Linked DNA regions of Homo sapiens: region 2 is linked to region 1. The links are contacts of gene promoters, found by promoter capture Hi-C in human tissues and cell types (Jung and others, 2019). All regions are on one chromosome and are shown on one strand. The core of a region is centred on a gene start or on the middle of the fragment in contact, and the rest is flanking DNA. Distances in the headings are between cores, read along the strand shown. Region 1 holds the start of ZNF765 (zinc finger protein 765). Region 2 overlaps LOC124904792 (zinc finger protein 480-like).

The links. The method cuts DNA at HindIII sites, captures the fragments that hold promoters and counts their contacts. A contact is called where the count stands out against the background at its distance.
Region 2: a contact is called between a fragment that was not itself captured here and the fragment with the promoter of ZNF765 in region 1, in 1 of the 25 tissues and cell types used here (bladder).

The regions. Positions count from the first base shown.
Region 1 is chr19:53,392,015-53,396,873 of GRCh38, reverse strand. ZNF765 (zinc finger protein 765) reads right to left here and starts at 1,725. Exons shown (of 4, transcript NM_001040185.3): 1 at 1,681-1,725. ZNF765-ZNF761 (ZNF765-ZNF761 readthrough) reads right to left here and starts at 1,725. Exons shown (of 13, transcript NM_001350496.2): 1 at 1,681-1,725. RefSeq lists a silencer at 1,656-1,855. The HindIII fragment of the contact is 15,738 bases long and covers 1-4,859 here.
Region 2 is chr19:53,201,309-53,206,208 of GRCh38, reverse strand. It overlaps LOC124904792 (zinc finger protein 480-like), which reads right to left. Exons shown (of 5, transcript XM_047439805.1): 2 at 2,067-2,193; 3 at 1,129-1,260. Among named protein-coding and RNA genes, the nearest start is that of ZNF665, 10 kb to the right of the region's middle. The HindIII fragment of the contact is 4,533 bases long and covers 1-4,318 here.

The sequences.
Region 1 (4,859 bases), core at 476-2,975:
GCTCTTTCATGAAGAATCCAGTAATAGTGGTGCTTTCTATTAAAACCTTATTTATAAAAAGCAGCAAAGGGAGAAAACTGAGGCAGAAATTTAAAAAATCAATATGCATTCATTCACTCCAAAAAACTAACAGGCAAGGCAAGGGTTAAAAAGAAAAGAAGAACAAGTTTTCCTCTGCCTAGCAAGCTCACTTCAAGGACAGTTATAAGATAACGCTTTTTGTGCAGCTGAAGCCAAAGGAATGAGCTCCAGAAAACCCCACTTTAGAACAAGAGTGAAGAAAAAAAAAGTCTGTATTTAGCTGTTCTTGTTTTTCTTTCAATGCAGCTACAAGACCACCAGCTATGCAAGGCCACAAGTTATGCTATGCTATAGATTATGTGACCAATCATTACATGATTAACTGCTTTTATTTTGCTTCTGTAAGCCTGCTTATAAAAACCCCACTCTGTCTTTGTTGAAATGCTCAGCTTTTTAGATGTAAATCCACTGAGCCGGTGCGTACCTTAAATAAACATCGTTCTGTCTCCCGCATACCGGTCTCTCTAGTACTTAGTTTCCCGCAACACCATCTCTGCGCCTCCTCTGCTCTCCCTGTTACATTCTCTCTTCCCTGTTATACCCTCATCCCCACTCTCTAGCACCCCAGATCCCCAGGTGTCCTCCCTGCTGTGCTTCTCCCTCTGTTCTCCTTGCCACCAGCACCACTCTGCTCTGTCTGCCCTGGCTCCAAATCCCTCCTCCTCTCCCTCACTCTGATGAGCCTCCCTCTTTGCTGTCCCTCTCCCTACCTTGCTCTCTGTCCTTCATCTCTCTGTACATCTACCTTTTCTCTACATTTCTCCAGTTGCTTTTCTCCTCCTTTTTTTTTTTTTCCCCCACATTTGCTGTGTCTGGCAAATCCCTCACCCATCCTCTACTTTGCCATCTGTTATGAGTCTTTTTTATTCTTCTTTTCTGTCTCAGGTTTTCTACTGCTCTACGTCTGTCTCCTGATCCCTTTAGCCTACACAAGCACCGGAGGCTTTGGATAAGACACAGGAGGGTTTGGAGCAAAACGCCTGCATCCCGGGGGAGCGCATTTTCCAGGGGCTGGAGCTGGGCAGGCAAGAACACCCCGTGTCACAGGACAGGCCCCGGGCACCTCCCTAACTCGGGCTCAGGGAAAGCAGTGACTGTGGAGGCGAACCTGGGGAGCAGTAGGGCCCGCAAAAGGAGGGAGGCGGCGGCGCCACGGCGCCTTAAGACAAGGGTGGGGTCTGCAGGATCCCAGGACCAGACAGAGGACGCGGCCTCCTTGGGGCTGGGGCCGCCGCGCTGCGTCCAGCTGCCAACGAGGGCGAGACTGGGAGGCGCTCAGGGAGGGAATTCACCTCTCGGGTGAGGACTTTAAAAAGCGCGGGACGGGAGGAGTCAGAAAAAGTTTCAGAGCAGGAAAACTACGTGATAGAAAGTGTATACATTGCCCTATAGCAGAAACACCCGGGACGGGACCAGCCTCAGGGGGACCTTAAACCCAAAAGGAAGCGACCCCCGGACTCTCACGGGGTCGTCTCAACTTGCTCTGGGTGAAGGAAGACGGCTGAGAATTTCCAGGTTAGTGGAGACCCCACGCCCCAGGTACAGAAGCGCCAGGGACCTGGGAAGCACAGACTTAATACAAAACAGAGCGAAACTCACCCGCGGCGGTGGGATAGTCACTCCACGCCGTCCGCTTCCGGGTCTGCGCGAAGCTGCGCGCGCAGGAAAGAAGCCAGGCCTGGGCGGGACCCGCGAGGAGGTGGGCGGGCTTGGGCGAGGTAGGGGCGGGGCAGAGAGACTTTACCCTTTAGAACCGACAGAGGGCGGGGCTGTGGCGGGACCTGTGAGTCTCTCAGCCTGGCTCCCAGGGCCTCAGTTTTCGGGTTTTGGAGGCGAGACCGGCCAGGAAGGCTGAGGCATGATTCAAAAGCCCTGGAATTGTCTGGAACGGGGATGCAAACTGGAATGTAAAATGCAAAGCCCTGCCTGGATGGAACGTACGATTTCATGCTGACAGCCCACAAAACAGAATAGAAATCCTCTCCCTTTCCAGTCTCCATTCACTTGGGAGGGAGAGTCCACCCTGTGCTCAGCTGCAGAGACTTCCCTAGGGCCACCGCCTGGGATGTGGGACGGAATGCTCAGGCCAGCGAGGAGTGAGGTCACCACCTTCTGGATAAACACAGCAGGGATGTGGGCGCGGGCGCGGGAGACTGAGGTCCCAGCTACTCAGGAAGCAGCGGCGGGAGGATTGCTGAGCCTGGGGGTCCAGGCCAGCCTGGGCGACAATGTAACACCCCCTCCCGCAGGGCTCCCTTCCTCGTCACTCTCTCTTTTTTTTCCTTTTTTTTTAAACGTTTTAAAATAAGAGTTTGATTGTGTGAGATAGGGATCTAACAGTATTCTTTTCCATGTGGATATCCAGTTAGTTGCCTCAGCACATTTTTGGAAGAGATTTATTCCTTTATTTATTTACTTATTTCTTTTGTTTTGAGACAGAGTATTTCTCTGTCGCCCAGGCTAGAGTGCCGTGATGGGATCTCGGCTCACTGCAGCCTCTGCCTCCTGGGTTTCAGCGATTCCCCTGCCTCAGCCTCCAGAGTATCTGCAATTACAGGCGCGTGCCACCATGCCCGGCTAATTTTTGTATTTTTGTAGACGAGTTTCACCATGTTGGCCAGTGTGGTCTCAAACTCTTGACTTTAAGGGATCCACCTGCCTGGGCCTCCTCAAAGTGCTGGGATCACAGGCGGGAGCCACCGCGCCTGGCCAAATACTTTTTACTTCACTTTCTAATTGTTAAGAAAATACAATTGAAAACGAAACAAAAAAATCTTCCCCCAAATGACAAAACATCTCCATGACGATAATAGAGAAAGAAATAAACACCATTTTATTAATAAGTAAGCCTTAGACCAGAATGTGATGGGAAATAGAGGCAAAGAGCTAAGAGGTTGAAAAAAGAGAAAGACACTTCACAGTTCTATACAACCCATTAAGTACATGTTTTCAAGATAAACACTAATCAGTCCTCAGGGAAAAGGACTTGACAACACCCTTGGTCACACATAGTTCATCCTGGCTCTAGTTGGTAATGGAGGTGACCATCTGTGTCAGCTAATTAGCTTCATGCAGAGGGAGGGGGAGAAACACTAACCCATGTCTTTTTGACAAGTGTGAGTTTTACAACATGGCTACAGGTGCCCTCTCTGGTGAGGCTCCTACAATGTGACAGAAACTGATGTCAGCAGTAAATAATAACATTTAGAATTTATGATTAAGTATAGAGTTTATCTGAACACAAAGCATGAGGATAGCCACCGGCAAACATCAACTCCTAATGAATGGGATCAACGTTCCCAAGTAGAGACGTTAAGGTTTCACACACAGGGAAAGACAGAGAAGTTTTAGGAGAATCAACACATTTTCCATTCAAGACCAGTGCATAGGTTGCAGCAAGTTGATTGGTGACGGAGTCATACACTTCAAGGAAGGTTATGTTATCACTCCATAAAAAGGGACAATGATCCCAGGAGGCCTTATCTCTGGGGCTGCTTAGTCTTCCTAGTTATTTACAGGAGAACTCTTTTCCTGTAAATAAGGGCAAGACTCGCCCAGGCTGGAGTGCAGTGGGGCGATCTCGGCTCACTGCAACCTCCACCTCTTGGATTCAAGCAGTTCTCCTGCCTCAGCCTCCCAAGTAGCTGGGATTACAGGCACACGCCACCATGCCTGTCTAATTTTTTGTTTGTTTGTTTGAGACAGAGTCTCGCTCTGTTGCCTAGGCTGGAGTGCAGTGACACGATCTCACCTGCTCACTGCAACCTCCACCTCCCGGGTTCAAGCGATTCTCCTGGCCCAGCCGCTAAATTTTGTATTTTTAGTAGTGACAGGGTTTCGCCATGTTGGGCAGGCTGGTCTCAAACTCCTGACCTTGTGATCCGCCCGCCTCAGCCTTCCAAAATGCTGGGATTACAGGCGTGAGCCACCGCGCCTCGCCTTTTGTTTTGCATTTTTAGTAGAGAGTGGGTTTTACCATGTTGGCCAGGCTGGTTCCGAACTTCTGACCTCAAGTGATCTGCCCGCCTTGACCTCCCAATGTGCTGGGATTACAGGCATAAGCCACCGCAGCCAGCCAGGAAAACTCGTAGAAGTTACGCCTGCGTTCCGCTGGACTCAGGTTGCATGAGCACATTCCTCTCAAGGTGTAGCAGGAGCAGCCGCGGATAAAAGCCCTCAGACACCCGGTTAAAGAAAGAAGTGGCTTTATTCAGCCGGGAGCATCGGCCAACTCACGTCTCAAGAACCGAGCTCTTTGAAGACTTTGTTTGGCCGGGAGTGTCGGCAGACCTGCCTCTCAAGAATTGAACCCCCCGAAGAAAGAGTTCCTGGCCCTTTTAAGGGCTTACAGCTCTAAGGGGTTCCACGGGAAAAGGTCATGACAGATTAAGAGCACATGTGGTTAGAGTTGGGGGGCAGTTAATCTTTTAACCTCAGGCCTGGTCATCAGTGGCGCTGGCTGGTCTTGTCACTGAATTCATTCCTGTTGTTTTTCAGCTTTTACTTCCTCCTCTTCAGAGACAGGAGACAGTAAGAGAAATGGCCTCTCTCCTCAAAGGCTCAGAATTATTTAAAGGCCATAGCTTTAAATTGGAATTATTTGATGTTTGAATTACTTAATTTCCTACTGAGATACAGGTACTGTCTCCCTTGTATTTTGCCTTTCAAAGAGAGCTCCCAAGTCCTTCAGAAATACATCCCTGGGTCATTAAGCTGAAAAAAGGTTTAGTTCGTTTCTAAAAAATACCACTTCAGACCAGGCGCGGTGGCTCATGCCT
Region 2 (4,900 bases), core at 803-3,302, 190 kb after region 1:
CTCAGCAAACTAACACAACAGAAAACCAAACACTGCATGTTCTCACTCATAAGTGGGAGTTGAACAATGAGAACACATGGACACAGGGAGGGGGAACATCACATACCAGGGCCTGTGGAGGGGATGGGGAGGTAGGGGAGGGATAGCATTAGGAGAAATACCTAATATAGATGACGGGTTGATGGGTGCAGCAAACCTCCATGGCACACGTATACCTATGTAACAAACCTGCACGTTCTGCACATGTATGCCAAAACTTAAAGTATAATAATTTTTAAAAAAATACAAAAATTAGCCAGGTGTGGTGACATGTGCCTGTAGTTCCAGCTACTCAGGAGGCTGAGGGAAGAGAATTACTTGAACCTGGGAGGCAGAGGTTCCAGTGAGTTGAGATCTCACCACTGCATCACAGCCTGGGCAAGAGAGCCAGACTCTGTCTCGAAGAAAAAAAAAAAGAGGACCTCTCTGTCTAGTGCCATTCCAGACCTGAGTAAACAATCTCAGAAAACCCCGTGTACTCCCCTGTGGCGCACACTGCAATCTGTGGCAAAAGCAGAACAGAAGAAATGACTGAGGCTGAAAGACTTTGACAGACAGACAGGGCTGGAGACAGCACCATGAGGTTTCCGGAGCCCCAGATGCAAAGGAGGAGCTGCCAATGTTTTCCCGTCACCTGATTAGGTCTCCCAAGTACAGGAAATGGGGCAAAACCTGAATAGGTCAAGGGGGCAGGTCCATGGAGGCCTCAGCTCTGATCTGTATAGACAGAGAACTGAGCATCAGACGCAGTCAGGTACAGGAGAGATCACAGGAGACCTCTTGGACACAACCCTCCCTGTGCCCCTCAGAGTGAAGAAACCAAAGAGGTCACAGAAGCCACATGACAGGGTGTTGTCCATCATGATAAAGACTTTGCCTTTGTCACTGTTGGAGCTGTAGCGCCATGGGAGTGTGAAAGGATAAACTACTACACGTCAGAAGAGCAGAGGGATAAATGAGGGCAAAGAAAGGTTTCCATTGAGAGCTCACAGGATTTAAACCCTTTTTGTTCCACAGAACTCTTCAACTCGGAAGGAGTTACCTGAATACTAATGGTGCAGCTTCCTCTCTGTCCATTTGAGCTCTTACCTGTGTTCACACCTTTGATGCATTCCCAACCACTTGATGTTTTTGTTATTTTCACTTCACTCTCCACAGTCCAGGGCTCTTTCCCTTGCCCCAACATGGAGGTAATACTCATTTCAGAAAGAGAGATTCCTGCTTAGAAAAAGAAAGGCATGTAATGTGCTGTGGCTTTTACAGAATCCCAGCCCTTTGTTTAGAGGAGGAAAGAGGACATTACAAATGGATCTAGAAAAATATTTCACAAATTCACCCACTGAATGCCTCCTTCTGAATGTTTAGGGAACATGGTAAAATACGAACATCGAACTGTCCTCTAGGAAGTACTGAATCACAAGCAAAGGGGCAGAAAAGAGCAAAGTGGATTTTTTTACTTTTTCTTTTTCTTTTTTTTTTTTTTTTGAGATGGAGTTTCGCTCTTGCTGCCCAGGCTGGAGTGCAGTGGCGCGATCTCGGTTTACTGCAACCTCCGCCTCCCGGGTTCAAGTGATTCTCCTGCCTTGGCCTCCCAAGTAGCTGGGATTACAAGCGCTCGGCACCACGCCTGGCTAATTTTTTGTATTTTTAGTAGAGATGGGGTTTCACCATGTTGGCCAGGCTAGTCTCAAACTCCTGACCTCAGGTGACCCACCCGCCTTGGCCTCCCAAAGTGCTGGGATTACAGGCGTGAGCCACCACGCTGGCCCAAAGTAGATATTTTTAAAGTCTACCATAGGGTTTATTTCTACTTAAGCTCTGGAACCACCAATGATATATCTTGAAGGAGGTAGATCATTTGAAAATGGGATAATTAAGTCCAGATGCTGCACTATTAAGCTTTTCATCTGAGAATTAACATAGCTTCAGTCTTAATTGAGCAATGCAGGGGCTCCCAAGAGGCACACAGGGAACATGCAGAGATACAGCAGAGCAGATCCCAGCTTCTGGAGGGGCATTATCCTCACCCAGGGAGACCAGGTTCCTGTAGTTCTCCAACATCACGTCCCTGTACAAAGCCCTCTGAGCAGGGTCCAGGCATTTCCACTCCTCCTGAGAGAATTCGATGGCCACGTCCCTGAATGTCAACCTTCCCTGATATGAAAAAACACATTTCACCAAGAAGTCATGGGGAGAGCTATTATCTTCACACAAAATGACAAAAAGAGAGGTATAAGTCAATTTAGTTTAAATGAACGTTCTGGGAAATCCATGGAAAGGTATTTTCAGGCAAACCGTGTCTGAAAAACACATTTTACCAAGCACATGGGGGAGAGTTATCATCTTTACATAAAATGAGAAAAAGAGAGAATTGTATTGATTTACTGAAGGGAGAGTTCTGGCAGATCCATGCTAAGGTATTTTGGGGCATTTAGGGACGTTAGGAAGAACATTAGGTATGTCTCCCTAATTGCATTTTATTATACTCTTCTGTAAGAGCTTATGATATCTTCTAAATAAGTGTGGATTTCTCTTTCTGTAGACAATGGAAGAAACGTAGAAATAAATAGTCAACACACAGCTATCTCTATAGAAGTGCTAGATATTATGTTTGACACACAAAGTGATATTCAGTATCTGGAGGAGCTGGAAGAAGTGTGTTGTCTTCAGAGATGACAATGTCCATGGTGTCTTTAAAGAAAGAAAGGTCAGAATCTAAAAAGTGTGGCCGGGCGTGGTGGCTCACGTCTGTAATCCCAGCACGTTGGGAGGCCAAGGCTGGTGATCATGAGGTCAAGAGATTGATATCATACTGGCCAACATGGTGAAACCCCGTCTCTACTAAAAATACGAAAATTAGCTGGGCGTGGTGGTGCACACCTGTAATCTCAGGTACTCGGGAGGCTGAGGCAGGAGAATCACTTGAACCAGGAGGTAGAGGTTGCAGTGAGCCGAGATCGCACCACTGCACTCCAGCCTGGGAAACAAAGTAAGACTCCGTCTCAAAAAAATAAATAAATAAAATAAAATAAAAAAATAAAAATACGGAACTGATTTATGAAATGGTGATGTGTCGTCTATAAACGCCATAGGATAGTTCATCCATACATTCATGCACACATATATACACGAATGTAAATTAACAAAGAGAAAACATGCCTCTCAATGACATACTTTTTATGACTTTTTCATTATCATTTTTCCTCATGTGCATTTCAGCATCTTGGGGACAGTAAAGTGTATAAGTTGTATTTAACTTAGTTTGTCAACATTATGTTATATAATGCCAATAAAAGAATGGTAAAAACATGAAAAAAATATTTAAAACTTTAACTCCAATCCCTATGAAATAGTTATAGTCAAACTACAAATAAAATTCTATCCATTTAAATTTAAATATTTAGGCTGGGCGCAGTGGCTCACGCCTGTAATCCCAGCACTTTGGGAGGCTGAGGCGGGAGGATCACCTGAGGTCAAGAGTTCGAGACCAGCCTGGGCAACGTGGTGAAATGGCGGGCACCTGTAGTCCCAGCTACTCGGGAGGCTGAGGCAGGAAAATCACTTGAACCCGGGAGGCAGAGGCTGCAGTGAGCCAAGATCGCACCACTGTACTCCAGCCTGGGTAACAAAAAAAACAAAAAACAAAAACAAACAACAAAAAAAAAGAAAAATGAATTAAAAGCCTCAACATATGACCTAACATGATAAAACTCCTAGAAGAAAGTGTAGGAGAAAAGGTTTGCGAAACTGAATTTTGCAGTCATTTCTAAGATATGACACCAAAGACACAGGCAAGAAAAGCAAAAATATACAAATGGGACTACATCAAACTTACAAACATCTCTGCATCAAAAGAAAGAATCAAGAGGCTGAAAAGCAACCTCCAAGAGAAGGATGTGCTGAAAATGACGTAAAGAATCTCCTTCTGTTAGAGATTTAGATTGTTTTCTGGCCGGGTGCGGTGGCTCACACCTGTAATCCCAGCACTTTGGGAGGCCAAGGCAGGTGGATCACCTCAGGTCAGGAGTTCAAGACCAGCCTGGCCAACATGGTAAAACCCCATCTCTACTAAAAATACAAAAATTAGCCCGGTGTGGTGGCAAGCACCTGTAATCCCAGCTACTCAGGGGGCCCAGGCAGGAGAATCACTTGAACCCAGGAGACGGAAGTTGCAGTGAGCCAACATCGCACCATCGCACTCCAGCCTAGGGGACAAGAGTGAGACTTTGTCTCAAAAAAAAAAAAAGAGATTTAGATTGATTTCATATTTTAAAATTGGTGGAGCCAGGCGTGGTGGCTCACGCCGGTAATCCCAGCACTTTGGAAGGACGAGGCGGATGGATCACCTGAGTTTGGGAGTTTGAGACCAGCCTGACCAACATGGAGAAACCCCGTCTCTCCTAAAAATACAAAATTAGCCGGGCATGGTGACACATGCCTGTAATCCCAGCTACTCGGGAGGCTGAGGCAGGATAATCGCTTGAACCTGGGAGGCGGAGGTTACAGTGAGCAAAGATCACACCATCGCACTCTAACCCAGGCAACAAGAGCGAAACTCCATCTCAAAAAAGAGAACAAATCAGTGCTAGAATAAAACACCCTCCCCTCACTAAGGTGTTTCTGAACTTTCCATTCCATTCCAAATCATAACAATTCTGGAGCCAAAAACATACAGATTCATGTATTTATCTTCGAATGTATTCTTAAATCAGACAAACAATGTGCCAGAATTCCCCTCATCAGCCTCCTTTTCTGGAATTACCAGGTACTTGTGCGCATTAGTACATGACTTCCATGTGCAGCTTCTCTACTCCTGGTCCACAGAGACCTCACAGTGCATCCAGATGTGGCCGCTAAACAA